Regions from separate parts of the Homo sapiens genome. Here regions 1 and 3 are each linked to region 2. The links are contacts of gene promoters, found by promoter capture Hi-C in blood cells and fetal thymus (Javierre and others, 2016). All regions are on one chromosome and are shown on one strand. The core of a region is centred on a gene start or on the middle of the fragment in contact, and the rest is flanking DNA. Distances in the headings are between cores, read along the strand shown.

Region 1 (4,177 bases), core at 1,373-3,872, 110 kb before region 2:
GGACAGTTTGCAGATGCTTCTCACAGGGCTCCTGGGAAGGACTGGCGGGGTAGAGCCCCACTTGCCTTTCACAGTGGCTCTTTCTTGTGTTGGCTTTCTCTGCCTCCCTGTTTTCACTCTTGCCCATCACTCCTCTCCCTGAAATCATTGCCTGAATAGCCCATGCAGACTTTTGTCTCAGGTTCTGCATCCAGGGGGAATCAGGCTAAGATAGCATCATTAGAAAAAAAGTCTAAAACTCCTATGAGAGGGATGCTAATTGCTTATTTACCCAAATCCCACAGCTCAGCTGAATAGCAGGTAAAGCAAGATTAGTTTATCTTAAATAAATATCATTTTGGGACTCATTGACTTCTCTGCCTCTGCAACGTATCCTCTTCCTTCAACTGTTTCTCCTTCTTCTAGTTCTCCCCATCTTTTTTTTTTTTTTTTTTTTTTTTAAGAGATGGGGTCGCACTATGGGTTGGCCAGACTGGTGTTGAACTCCTGGCTTCAAGCAATCCTTTAAATCTCCAGAGTTTTGGGATTACAGGTGTGAGCCACTGTGCCTGGCCCTGTGTATCTCCATACCAATGACCATTCATCTCCCTTCCCTCTTTGTTTTGTCTAATCTCTGGTCCTTCATCTCTTTCCACTTCATCCTCTTTCTGTCTCCTTTATGCCTTTGCTTTTTGTTTTTCGTGATTCCTCTTATCTTCTTCCCTTTCTGATTGCTGGTAAACACAGTTGACAGTCAACCTAGCTTGTATGACACTTGAATCCCATGGCTTTGCTCTCCTTGCATTGTCTCACAAACAGGGGAGCGAAAGGTGGGATTAGATTGTGTGCTGCCCCACACTAAGGATTCTGAAGGGTTTGCTAAGTAACGATGGGATCCCATGAATGTGAAAGAATTAGTGAGTGAAAGGTATGCAGAGGGATGATGGGGCTTTGACATCCCCTATAGCCACAAAAATCCAGAGTTGGCTCTAGATACTCGTCCTGGGTGTGTGGACCCCTCAGCCCAATCTTCTCTCCCCAGTTTCTGTTCTTTAGCTGGATTGTGGAAGTTTATGCATTCCCAGGATGGAAAATCGAACCTGGAGAGGAGCTGGGAGACCTACAGAGAAATCTGAGTCCTCGTTGCTTCCCCCGCCCGGGATAATGCAAAGCAAGGCCAGGTCTCTGTGGAGGTGACTTGTTTTGCTTTTCTATAAAACCACCCAAACATGTGCATTTGTTCACAATTCAAATCCAGTTTATTACCAAAATGAACAAAAGGAGAATGAGGCTTAAATTAAATAAATTATGCAAATATCTCAAGAGATAAGGTTCCCAGTCCTCCCTGGGAATTATATTATCACAGGTCAGTATCACTAAGAACATTCAAAAGCATTGAAATTCTGGATTATTTCACTACTTTGCCTCCATCTTTCCTGCTTCAACCAGGTCCAGAAGAGTGTTCTTTTCCAAATATTCCAGCAGAGATGTTTTCTTCAATGTCTTCCCTCTGCCTCATGTGTTTCCAATCTTACCTCCACAGCGGGCTCTGCAACCCTCAGACATGTGGCAGATCTCTCCCTGAGCCTCAACTCCAGGTCACTGGGTCAACAATCTCCTTCAGTTCTGAGGCTGGTCTGGGGGTTAATGATTACTTGGGGGTTAAGGATCACTTCATCAAGTCCTCAGGGGATCTAGATACTTGGTTCAAAGGGGACTCTGACTTGGAAATTCCTGAGGCTCTGTGACCTTCTCCCACCTCCTGGGCCTGAGCTGGACTTGGAAGGAGGTGGAGTAGGGGAGAGTGAGTTGTCATTGGCTAAGGCTCTTGTCCTCCTGGAATTTGGCACTTCGGGTGCTGGGCACGGTGAATCCCAGATAACATTGTCCTTCGCCTTCCAAGTTTTGAGTTCCATTGGCAGCCAGATGGCATAATGAATTCACAGAAAAGCAATGCTCCTGGGCCAAGAATGTGTTGGCTCTTGGCCAGCACCCCCTCCTTTAACTCTAAGAAGACTTGTTAGCTGACCAGCTCACTCAACACACAGACACACAACGCAGGTCTGGCTGAAGTTAGAAATGGGGATGTTTTCCTAGGCTGGGCCAGCCCAACCTGTTAGGGAAGGGGTTGTTAAGCTGAAGAAGCTTGAGAAAAGCAGTGATGAGAGGCCAGAAGATTTTCTGTGCATTTCCACTGAAATTTTACAAAACACTTACACATGGAACCTATTTATTTTCAAGTCAACAGTAGGGTTCCTCTCAATACCTCCTTGTACATATGGAAAACTTAACCCCTATTTTCATCTTCATAGGAGAAGATGGCCTGAGGTCCTAAGGGTGTTAAAGAGTCTTCCTGTGCAGGAAGACCCAATCTGGATCAGCCCCTTTCCACATCTGCATGCAGTTAGGGGATGTAGCGGATCCCTGGAGGACTTCCACCTTTGCCTACAGAAGGACCCCATTGTGTCTCTGGGCCACAGGCTGATAAGGAAGAGTTAACATGATTGGCTCTTTGCCAGGTAAAGAAGGATAAGGCAGATTTACCAAAGGGAGGCATTTCCCTGATGGGCCCTGGGGTCAAGGGGGACTGTCTGGGCCCAGGTCCCATCCGTTTTCCCTGTGTTGGTACTAGCACCCTCTTCCCCTCTGAGTCTCTGGGTGCAAAGAGGAATTCCCAAAAGTTTTGTGCAGAATAACTGGTATCTATTACTAGGATGCCAGATGATTCTGCCAGCTACCCATCCCCCTCTTTGGGGTTTCTAGCCAGCCTCCAGGGGAAGGGAGCAGCCTCTGAGGGCAGTGATGTTTCAGGAGGCTGAGGCAGAACCTTAGTGGGCTGTCCCCGGGGAGGTAGCTCTGGTGGTCTCGACGGTCCTGGCCACTGTCCAGGCTAGAGTCTGATGTGCTTGCTGACAGCAGTGGTGGTTTGGGCAGCCTTGGGGATGATGGAGGGGGGGCGCATAGTTACCAAGGCCTAGACTCCTGGGTGTGGAGAGCACATGGTCCCTGGGTGCAGAGCTGCCAGAGACAGAGTTGAGGCAGCTGGGGAAGGCAAGCCAGAGTCCTAACCAAGTTTATCCCTATGTCCGTGACAGCCTGACACCATCTGACACCGAGCCGTGTGGGCTCTGGGACACTTTTTGAAGCTTGTACAGCAGGCCAGCACAGTTGTACTTGTCCTTCTGTTTTTGGCTCACTCGTAAAAGCTGGAAGTCAAGGTGTCCTTCAGCTGCCAAGGACAGGGCAGAGGTGGGTGGGGTGGAGTGAGCAGGAGGCTTGTCCATTGCGGCCAGGGCCTGACGGGTGAAGAGTGGGCTCACCAGACTCTCACTCCTGTAAGGGTAGCACCCCCCTGCTGCTGAGAGGCTCTCTCTGGAGATGCGGGGAGGGAAGGAAGGGAGGAGAGAGGGGGAGAGGAGAGAGGAACCCAAGCTCTGGGGGATGCACTTTCCTCCGCCCGACACCCCCTGTGACCCCAGGCTCATCCTTTATGGAAGTCCCAAGTGCCAGGCACTCTGTAGGCAGCATGAGGACTGGCTGAGCCCTCACAGGGCGGTCAGGGTCTCTGCGTGAAACATGCTCCCGAACATCTCCTGCAGGAACCACAGGAAGGAAGTGGGAGGGGAAGAGAGAGGTTAGACCAGTTGGGGTCACAGTGGCTGCAACCAAGAGGTGACCCTAGGAACCCCTGGCCAGAACAAAGCACCTGTGTGTGTGTGTGTGTGTGTGTGTGTGTGCGAGAGTGTGTGTGAACAGGGGAGAGGCAGGGTCAGCCTAGGAGGTGAACCAGTCCAGCGTGGCAGGAGCAGGTGCTGAAATCTACATGTGAATCACCTCCTGTGTGCTGTGTGACCTTCCACGTGTCCCTCGCCCCCTAATAGCTTCACTTTCCTCATTGGGTAAAATGAGGGTTGGCAGTAGACAAGCTCTGAAGTCCTTTCTCACGTTGATAAGCTATTTTGGTCCTATCCAGGCTTTTTGGAATGTGCTGGAGATTCCAAGAGGGCACCGAAATCAGTCTGCCAAATCTCTGTGGCTCCAGCTCTATTTTCTAATCTGTCCCACCTGCCATCAGCACTGTGAGAGACGGATTCAGAGCACCATGGAGCTCAATGTCAAAAAGAATGGGAAGAGGCACAAAGAGAGACACTACTTCTCATAGACCCAAAGCCAGATTTCTCCAAACCTAGTCATCTGG
Region 2 (4,044 bases), core at 732-3,231:
TCTGATCAGTATGAAAGTTACTCTCTTGGACAGCAGCCACATTTTAGTTCTTCCTTGGCTTTGCTCTATCTCTGCTATAAGCAGTTCCACGGCTGACTCAAAGATGGAGAGTGGAAGCTGGTGTGGCAGGGATGGCCAGTTTCTGGAACCTAAGCCCCCCTTCCCCAGAGTACCAGGCTTGGCCTCCCAGGACTAGCCCCCAGACATTCTCTGCTGGTGCTCCTGGCCCCACTTACTGCAGGCTGGGCTAGTGCAGTACACAGAGGGGACCCAGAGGTTGGAGGAGCCAGTGTCGAAGATGACAGTGAAGTTCTGTGGTGGGGAGCCAATGGAGATAGTGCCGAAGTATTCCATCTGCAAGGAAGAGTGAGAAGGAAAGAGGGTGTGGGTGGTGGGGAGGGACAAGGGTGCTCACCAGGAAGCCAGGGGAAAGCTCCCAGGGGCCAGAGCCTGGGGTAATACAGACTGGAGTTTACAGAGCCTAGGAAGTGGCAACGCTGGAAAATAAAAGGTAAAAGGAGCAGAGAAATGGCCATGAAGGAGGAAATCAAACCAAGCCTCTGGCTACTTCATTTGATTTTACTTGCACTAACCTGATTCTTATAAATACATTGTAGGAGAGGCAGTGGAGGAAGAACCATCTGTTTTACAGACCAGGGAACTGGGGCTGGGAGAGGTTAAGTAACTTGCCTAAGGGTACACAGCCAGTAAGCTGCCCAGCTGAGAGCAGAAGCAGGGGCCTTCAGTGTGGGATGATGCTTTCACTCCCAGCCCTTTCCTTCTGCAGAGAACTCTGACATTTGGGTACATGGGGGCCTGCTTAGCCAACTCCATGGGGACCCAGGGAATCAGTCCCCATGGATCATCATCCAAGTGAAGAAATCCACAATGGCCTTCGGTGCTACTGATGTGGCACTGGCCATGCCCTAATGCTGGGCCTTCCTCCCGCTCCCACCTCTCCCCAGCCCTGACCCCAGGAGGCCTCACATCCAAGTAGTTGATGAGGGGTTCCTTGGCACTCTGGTCCATTGAGCAGGACTCGGTGAACTGGATCATGTCCAAATTATGGGATTTCCAGAACTCAGAGAGCTGGCTCCGTGCCCGCAGCTTCTTCTTGAGGGACGGATGCCTCCTGAGGGGCACCCTGGAGACAAACCCCCATGTAAGCAGGAGATGTACTTCTGCCTCCCTCTTCCCCCCATTCTCGTCCCATTTTCTCAGGGGCCAACTAGAGAAGATGGGGTGGGAGGGGGGGATCTGCAAGACAGCACGCAGGATACAGGTGGGATCAGCGTCCTCTCTGCCACTCAGCCTGCCCGGCCTCATCTCTGCCCTATAGAGTCTTAGAATCTTAGAGTGGAAATGGCTCCCCTCCTGGAGCTGAGGTCTTTGAGATCTAGGAAAATGGGAGATGTGGGGCGGTCTACAGTTTTACATGAACATCACGAAGGGCTGATTTAAAGGGACAGAAAAACTCTTGGGGACAGTGATGGTCAGTCCCCTGGGGAAGTCCTGGGGCGCTTTGAGCTACAAACCACAACTGCAGGTTCCTGCTCTTTTGCAACACAAGAAGACCCCTGGGACTTGGGAAGGCACCTCCGTGGAGGTGGAGGCAGGAGGATGACTTGTTGAGGACTGGAGATTAAGGCCATACACAGGCGGTCACTGGATGAGTCTCTTCCATGCATTGACGCAAGCCCTCAGCTTCTCCTCCTCTTCACCTCCCCATCAGCTTTCCTACCCCAGAGCAGCCCTGAGTTGCAGGGCATGGGACTACCCAGCTGAACACAGTGCGGGGACGTCTTCTCACCTGTGAAGGGATCCTTGGGCCTCTCCCAGCTCCAGGAGCACCAGCAGCAAAAGAAGGAGCGTTTTCATTGTGAGTCCGACCAGCAGCTTCTCCCTTGCCCCCTCCTTTCTTCTCTCCCCGAGGGCAGTGGGAACGGACTTTCCCTAACTCTCAGACCTGCCCAGCCCAGTCTGAGGGCCGAATGATAAGGCCCTGGAGTCATTAGCCATGCCCAGAGTAAATACGGCATGTGGAACAGGGCGTTCCCCCTGCACCTCTCCGTCCCTTTCCCACCTACAAGAGGAATATGAGTCTGCGGGGAGAACTTGGGAGTCCTCTGGGGCTTGGCTTCTCTCAGGGCTTTGGCACCTCCTCTGACCCCAAGAAACCCTGTTAATGAATCCGGAGGGCAGCACATGCCTGGCTGCCTGGAAAGGCCCACTGAACTCTTACTGCAAGTGCTCTAGCTGGAGACTCTGGAGGGGTGGGAGCTGACTTGTCATGGGTGGCAGGATTCTAACTCAAAATATTCGTCAGTCTGTTTTCTGGGTGATTCCTGTTCTCTCCTCAATCTCTCAAATGCTCCAAAGGCAGTTTATCCTTCCCTGGCCCACTTTGAAGCACAAACCAGCACTCCTCAAAGGCCCTGAAATGGGAAAATGTAGCTGCAGATTTATGGAGCCCACTCTCCTGACTCTAAGGACTTGATGAATCTGGGGCTGGGGCTCAGGGGTGTGTGGAGGAGAATGCAGGGGCAGCGAGGGAGGGTCAAGGGGGTCAGCGTCTACAGCAAGTGCCCGCATGAGTCTACTAAAGCGGCCATGACAAAGTACAGGGGGCTTAAACAACAGAAATTTATTTTCTCACTATTCTGGAGGCTGGAAGTCCAAGATCAAGGTGTTGGCAGACTTGGTTGCTTCGGAGGCCTCTCTCCTTGGCTTGCAGATGGCTGCCTTCTCTCTGTGTCTTCACATGGGTCTTCCCTCAGCGTGTGGCTGTGTCCACATCCACATTTCCTCTTCTTATAAGGACGCTAGTCATATTGGAGTAGGGCCCACCCTAATGACTGCGTTTACCCTTAATACCTCTTTAAAGACCCTATCTCCAAATACAGTCACGTTCTGAGGTACTAGGTGTTAGGACATCAACATGGATTTTGGAGGACAAAGTTCAGCCCTTAACAGTGCTCAGGGACAATAGGATCTTCTATCTGTCAAGTGGGACTAAGCGCAGGGGTGGAGAGTGGGTGGGGCTCAGGCCTTAGTTACCGCAGTGTGTGAAACCCCCTCACCATCAGCCTATCTCTGTGGCCACCCGCCTCATAAACAGATGGTGGGGCTTCAGTGCCTGGGGTGGGGATGAAGGGGTTACAGGTAGGAAGACCCTGACCCTGACTCAAGTTAGCCAGGGCAGCAGAGGCCACCACCATATGCCAATGCTTCCAGAGGGCACTAGCTCAGCAGTAGGAAGTAGATGGCCTGCGTTTAGGTTTAGCTCTGCCCTGACCAGCTAGTGTTCTGGAAAATCTCTTAAGTGCTATGGGATCTGCCTTTCATCTCTGAAGTTCAAATGGCAAGCAAACGTGGAGTATGGAGCTAAGCCAAACCCACCCTTGGGTCCAAAAATGTTAAAAAAAGACATCAAAAAGACTTAAGGAACAGCCTAGACCTTTGACCCCTGAACCCAAGGCAACAAAGCCTCTTTGGCATTTCCCAGGAGCCCGTCTTGTTGATCTTTCACTGGGGAGAGTGGTCTAAACCTAGAAGGGCAGCTTGAGTCAGAAGTGGCTAGAAGTGGAGATCATTCATTTTGGCAGTAAACTCTGCCATGTTTTGCCCGTAACTGCTTATTCACCACATACCTTAGTTTTGTCATCTGCCAAATACCTTACCTACATCAATGGGTTTTTAAGGAGGATTAAACAAACAAAATAAGGTACAGATATACTTGTTGTACTGCACTCTGCTTTACTGCACTTTGCAGATACTGCTTTTTTTTTTTAATTGAAGGTTTGTGGCAAACCTGTGTCAAGCAAGTCTATCAGCACCATTTTTCCAATACTGTGTGTTCATTTTGTGTCTCTGTGCCACATTTTGGTAATTCTTGCAATATTTCAAAGTTTTTCATGATTATTTTATCTGTTTTGGTGATCTGTACTCAGTGATCTTTGATGTTACTGTTGTAATTGTTTTGGGGTACCACAAACTGCACCCGTGTAAGACAGAGAATTTAATAAGTGTAATTGTGTGTTCTGA
Region 3 (3,922 bases), core at 1,391-3,890, 82 kb before region 2:
GTGGTGGAAAAGGGTGGGTGGCATGGTGGGGAGGAGGAGTCTCAGAGAACTAGCAGGGATGGGAGTCCCAGGGAATCCTCAGAGAGGGTGTCTCACGATGCCAGATGCTACATTAGGGGCAGGAAAGTGGAAGAGGGAGCAAGAAAGAGAGCCAGGTATAGGGAACATAACAATCTGATCCCCAGTTAAACAAACAAACAGCCATGATAAGTGATGTCAGCATCGCTGGAAAAAAAAGTCAAGTGCCCTATTGCCAGAGGCGTGTATCTACAAGCCCTGCCCCCACCACCCCTCCACTGCCTTCCATCCCCCTACCGGGCCAGGGATAAATAGCAGGTGCCATGTGATAATACTGAGAAACAAAAGGGTGACCCTGCCCCTCCTCCACTGTGCAGGGAAGGGGGGCAGGTCCTAAAGAGCTGGAGGGACTTAGAGGGGGTCTGTAGGGTTTAAGGGGAGTAGGGGGTGAGCCAGGAGAGCAGAGGGCAGGAGATGTGGGTGCATGGGCCACTCCCATGCACTGGCAGGAGAGTGGGTCAAATCTGGAGCAGAGGGGATGCAGGGGTCGTGCGAGCCGGAGTAGCTGGGAGAGGGGAAGCAAAGAGAAAATAGACCCTGCAGGGAGGGCACAGGCTGGAGCAGATTCCCTCTTGAGATTCTCCAGGATTTCTCCTCCAATGAGCTCATGCCAAAGCACGCCCCTGGTACCTTCTCCCAGTCACATTTCTAACCAGGTCTCTGTCAACACCATCCAAATATTGTAGGCAGAGATGGGCTTGGGCAGAGATGGGCTCAGGCAGAGACAGTGCCCGAGTGGATGCACTGAAAGGCTCGGAACGGCACCTGGCCATGGGAAGCATGCAATAAACTCCAACTATCATCATTACTGCTATGACTCCAGAGGAGCCTCTTTCTTGCTCTGCCATCTCTAGTGGGCACTCTGCCTTTTTTTGGCTTGCCTTTTTCCATCTGCCCCTATACCTGCTGCCCCATGCCTTAACCCCTCCAAATTTTCCCAGGACTTGATGAGAGGAACAGCAGAAAATCTTGTCAGAAGAGGGTAGAACATCTGCAGAGCAGGACTGTGAGGGGTCCATTTGTGGGTTTTGGTTGGATCTGGAGGTGATCCTGTCACTGTGGGCCAGGCTGACTTCCTCCCTCAGTCCTGTCGGGGGTGTGCATGTGAGGGAGGGGGTTTTTGACGCATGTGTGCCAGGTACGGGAACAGCCCCGGCTGGGCCAACCCACCCTGGCATCCTTATCACTGGTTCCTAGCCAGCCGGTTGCTGTGTTCTGGGAAGAGGAAAGGTCACCTTGAGGTTTCCCCTTTGCTCTAGCTGCTGGTTGCCTCCCTGCCTCATCCAGGGTGGGGGCCACAGGGTAAGAGCAGCCTCTGAGTGACCCAGGTGTGAATGTGAGCTGGGACAGACAAGCTGGCTGGGGTCTCAGTGGGAGACCACATCCATGGCAGGAGGAGGAAGGATGTAGAGGCCTCTGCACCCCTAAGGCTTTTTTGTTTGTTTGTTTTGTTTTTTTGTTTTTGTTTTTTGAGGTGGAGTCTCCCTCTGTCACCCAGGCTGGAGTGCAGTGGCACGATCTTGGCTCACCACAGGGTGCACTTCCTGGGTTCAAGCAATTCTCCTGCCTCAGCCTCCCTAGGAGCTGGGATTACTGGTGCGCGCCATGACACCCAGCTAATATTTTTTATATTTTTAGTAGAGACGGGGTTTCGCCATGTTGGCCAGCCTGGTCTCGAACTCCTGACCTCAAGTGATCTGCCCTCCTTGGCCTCCCAAAGTGCTGAGATTACAGGCTGAGCCACTGCGCCCAGCCCCCCAAGGCATTTTTAAACACTCCTTTTCCTTCTACTGTCCCTGTGTTTCCAGGGCAAATCTCTCCCTACTCCTCACCCCAGCCTAATTTCCTCCTCAGTGTAGGGGAGGATGAGATGTCCCTAAGGTGTCTTAGAGACTGCATCCCGTGTAGGAGAGAGATTCACTGATACCACCCCCCAAATCCCCACTCCTTATCTCCAGGCGAACTCTCCCTCCTCTGCACTTTCCCTGCTGGGAATGGGTGCTGGGCTGAGGAAATAGGCTCCAGAAAGAGGGACCAAGGCTAGACTTTGAGAATCACTTCCTAACAGCAAGACTGACAAGGTCATGGGCTCCCTGGAATGGGCACTTGAGGTTAAATTCCTAGAAGTCTTTAAGGAGACTGGGGTTGCTTTCACTTGGAAGCAGGGCCTGGGCAAGGAGACCAGTGAAGGGCCCAGCTGCTCTGGTCCCAGAAATCCAGGCGAAAGCCCAGAGAGGCATCCAGTGAAGATCAACTCCCCTTGAAGGGGTGGCTCTGCCCCTTCCATCTTCCAAGTAGTGACCCCACAGCCCCCAAAGCTTGGTCAGTGTTGAGCTGGTCCTCGATTCCCCCAGCAAGTTCACGGGGGTCAGTCTGGCTGTTTAGTACGGTTTAAGAGGCACTCTTGAATACTGGGTATATGCCAATCTCCGGAAGACTCTGGGCATTAAAAGATAAAGAGGAGTCCGTCTCTGCCCCAGGGTTTATACAAATGAGACTCAGAGAGCAGGTGGCTAGCTCTGGGAAGTGCCTGGGAAGGCCTTCCTGGCAGTGGAGGTGCTCTTGGCCATGCTGGTCTCCATGCTGCCCAAGCAGGGTCTTGCCAGGTTCTGGATGCCAGGGCCAGGATGAGGGAGGTGGGGGAGGACTGTGGGGTTCTGAGAAAGGGTCATCTGCATGAGTGAAGCCACTCAGGGGGAAAGCCCTCTCTCAGTCTGCCCACTTGGGGGGCTGCGTCACTCCAGGGTCTTCTGGTCCTCAGACCCGTGGGGCCAAGTGTAAGGGGGCAGTTGATGCTGGAATAATAGAAGCTTTGTTAGGTCTCAGCTGGGGACCCTCTGGGCTGGTTTTGAGGAATGGGGGCACTGCCTGAGAGTGGCTTGGAACCCCTTGGAGCTGCAGGATGAGGGGTTTGGAGGCTGAGAGCCTGGAGAGCTGGCTGCCCATCCACTGTCCTGGCCCAAGCCCTTCTGTGTTGAAGCATTCACCATTGAGTCGGGCGTCCCAGGTCCAGCTACCGCCCACCCGCCTGCCTGATGGAGCTGGTCCCTTGCTCACCCTCTCCCACTCCTCAGTTTCCTCCCCCTCCACCTCTTCCAACTTCTCAGGACTAATGGGGACACATGGGATTCTGTGTAGTCCATGCTAAGTTCCCCGAGCTGGTGGAGAAGTACATGAGTGAAGGAGGATGTCTGGGCGGTAGAAGGAGGGGGAGACAGCCATGCAGAGTAGGCTGGTGAGTCAAGCATTAAGAGCTTTTCCCTCCAAGACTTGAAAAGAAAGGGAGAGGAGCAGCCCACAGCTTCAAAGGCTGTCGCGGAGGAAGGTCTAACATTTTCCTTTCCCTCGGAGGCCTTTGCCTCGCTCTGTTTCGGGGTCTGGCGACCACCACACCCTCACCCTACTTGCTCCCTCAGTCAAGCCCAGCCTTGCAGCCCAGGTCCTTACATAGACGTGAAGACCCAAAGGGCTCCTCAGAGGGGAAGGGCTGGGAGGCTGCTCTCAGACTCCAGGGGCCAGAGTGTCCTTCCTACTTGTGCTCAGCTTGGCAGTTGGTTCCTGTCATCCCTCCTCTCGGTACCCCTGGTGACTGCCCTCTTGCAGGGATGACCCCAGCCCAGTGGGGTGGGCTGGGCTGGGTGGGGCTTACCAGTGGGTGAGCAAAGCCGGCTGGGCAGGGCTGCAGGTGTGTCTGGGGAGCGGGCAGCCGAAAGGTGTTCCTGAGGTGTGTGAAAGGGCTCTGCTCAAATAATCCAGGGAGGCGTTTATAAATAACTTTTCCTCAGGGCCACGGGGTGAGCCCCGGCTTCTGATTGGCTCAGAGGGGAAGTGGTTTTGAACACTA

What was found. The method cuts DNA at HindIII sites, captures the fragments that hold promoters and counts their contacts. A CHiCAGO score of 5 or more calls a contact.
Region 1: a contact is called between a fragment that was not itself captured here and the fragment with the promoter of CTSE in region 2, in 5 of 17 cell types (M0 macrophages, M2 macrophages, megakaryocytes and 2 more). The highest score is 7.3, in M0 macrophages.
Region 3: a contact is called between a fragment that was not itself captured here and the fragment with the promoter of CTSE in region 2, in 3 of 17 cell types (activated CD4 T cells, naive CD8 T cells and neutrophils). The highest score is 7.0, in activated CD4 T cells.

What each region holds. Positions count from the first base shown.
Region 1 is chr1:205,911,833-205,916,009 of GRCh38, forward strand. It overlaps SLC26A9 (solute carrier family 26 member 9), which reads right to left. Exons shown (of 21, transcript NM_052934.4): 21 at 1,220-3,572. The coding sequence ends at 3,525. Among named protein-coding and RNA genes, the nearest start is that of SLC26A9-AS1, 21 kb to the right of the region's middle. The HindIII fragment of the contact is 1,001 bases long and covers 2,123-3,123 here.
Region 2 is chr1:206,021,914-206,025,957 of GRCh38, forward strand. CTSE (cathepsin E) reads right to left here and starts at 1,982. Exons shown (of 9, transcript NM_001910.4): 1 at 1,811-1,982; 2 at 988-1,144; 3 at 237-354. The coding sequence starts at 1,878. The HindIII fragment of the contact is 10,319 bases long and covers 1-4,044 here.
Region 3 is chr1:205,939,638-205,943,559 of GRCh38, forward strand. It overlaps SLC26A9 (solute carrier family 26 member 9), which reads right to left and starts at 3,819. Exons shown (of 21, transcript NM_052934.4): 1 at 3,728-3,819. All of the region lies in intron 2 of SLC26A9-AS1 (SLC26A9 and RAB7B antisense RNA 1), which reads left to right. The HindIII fragment of the contact is 492 bases long and covers 2,395-2,886 here.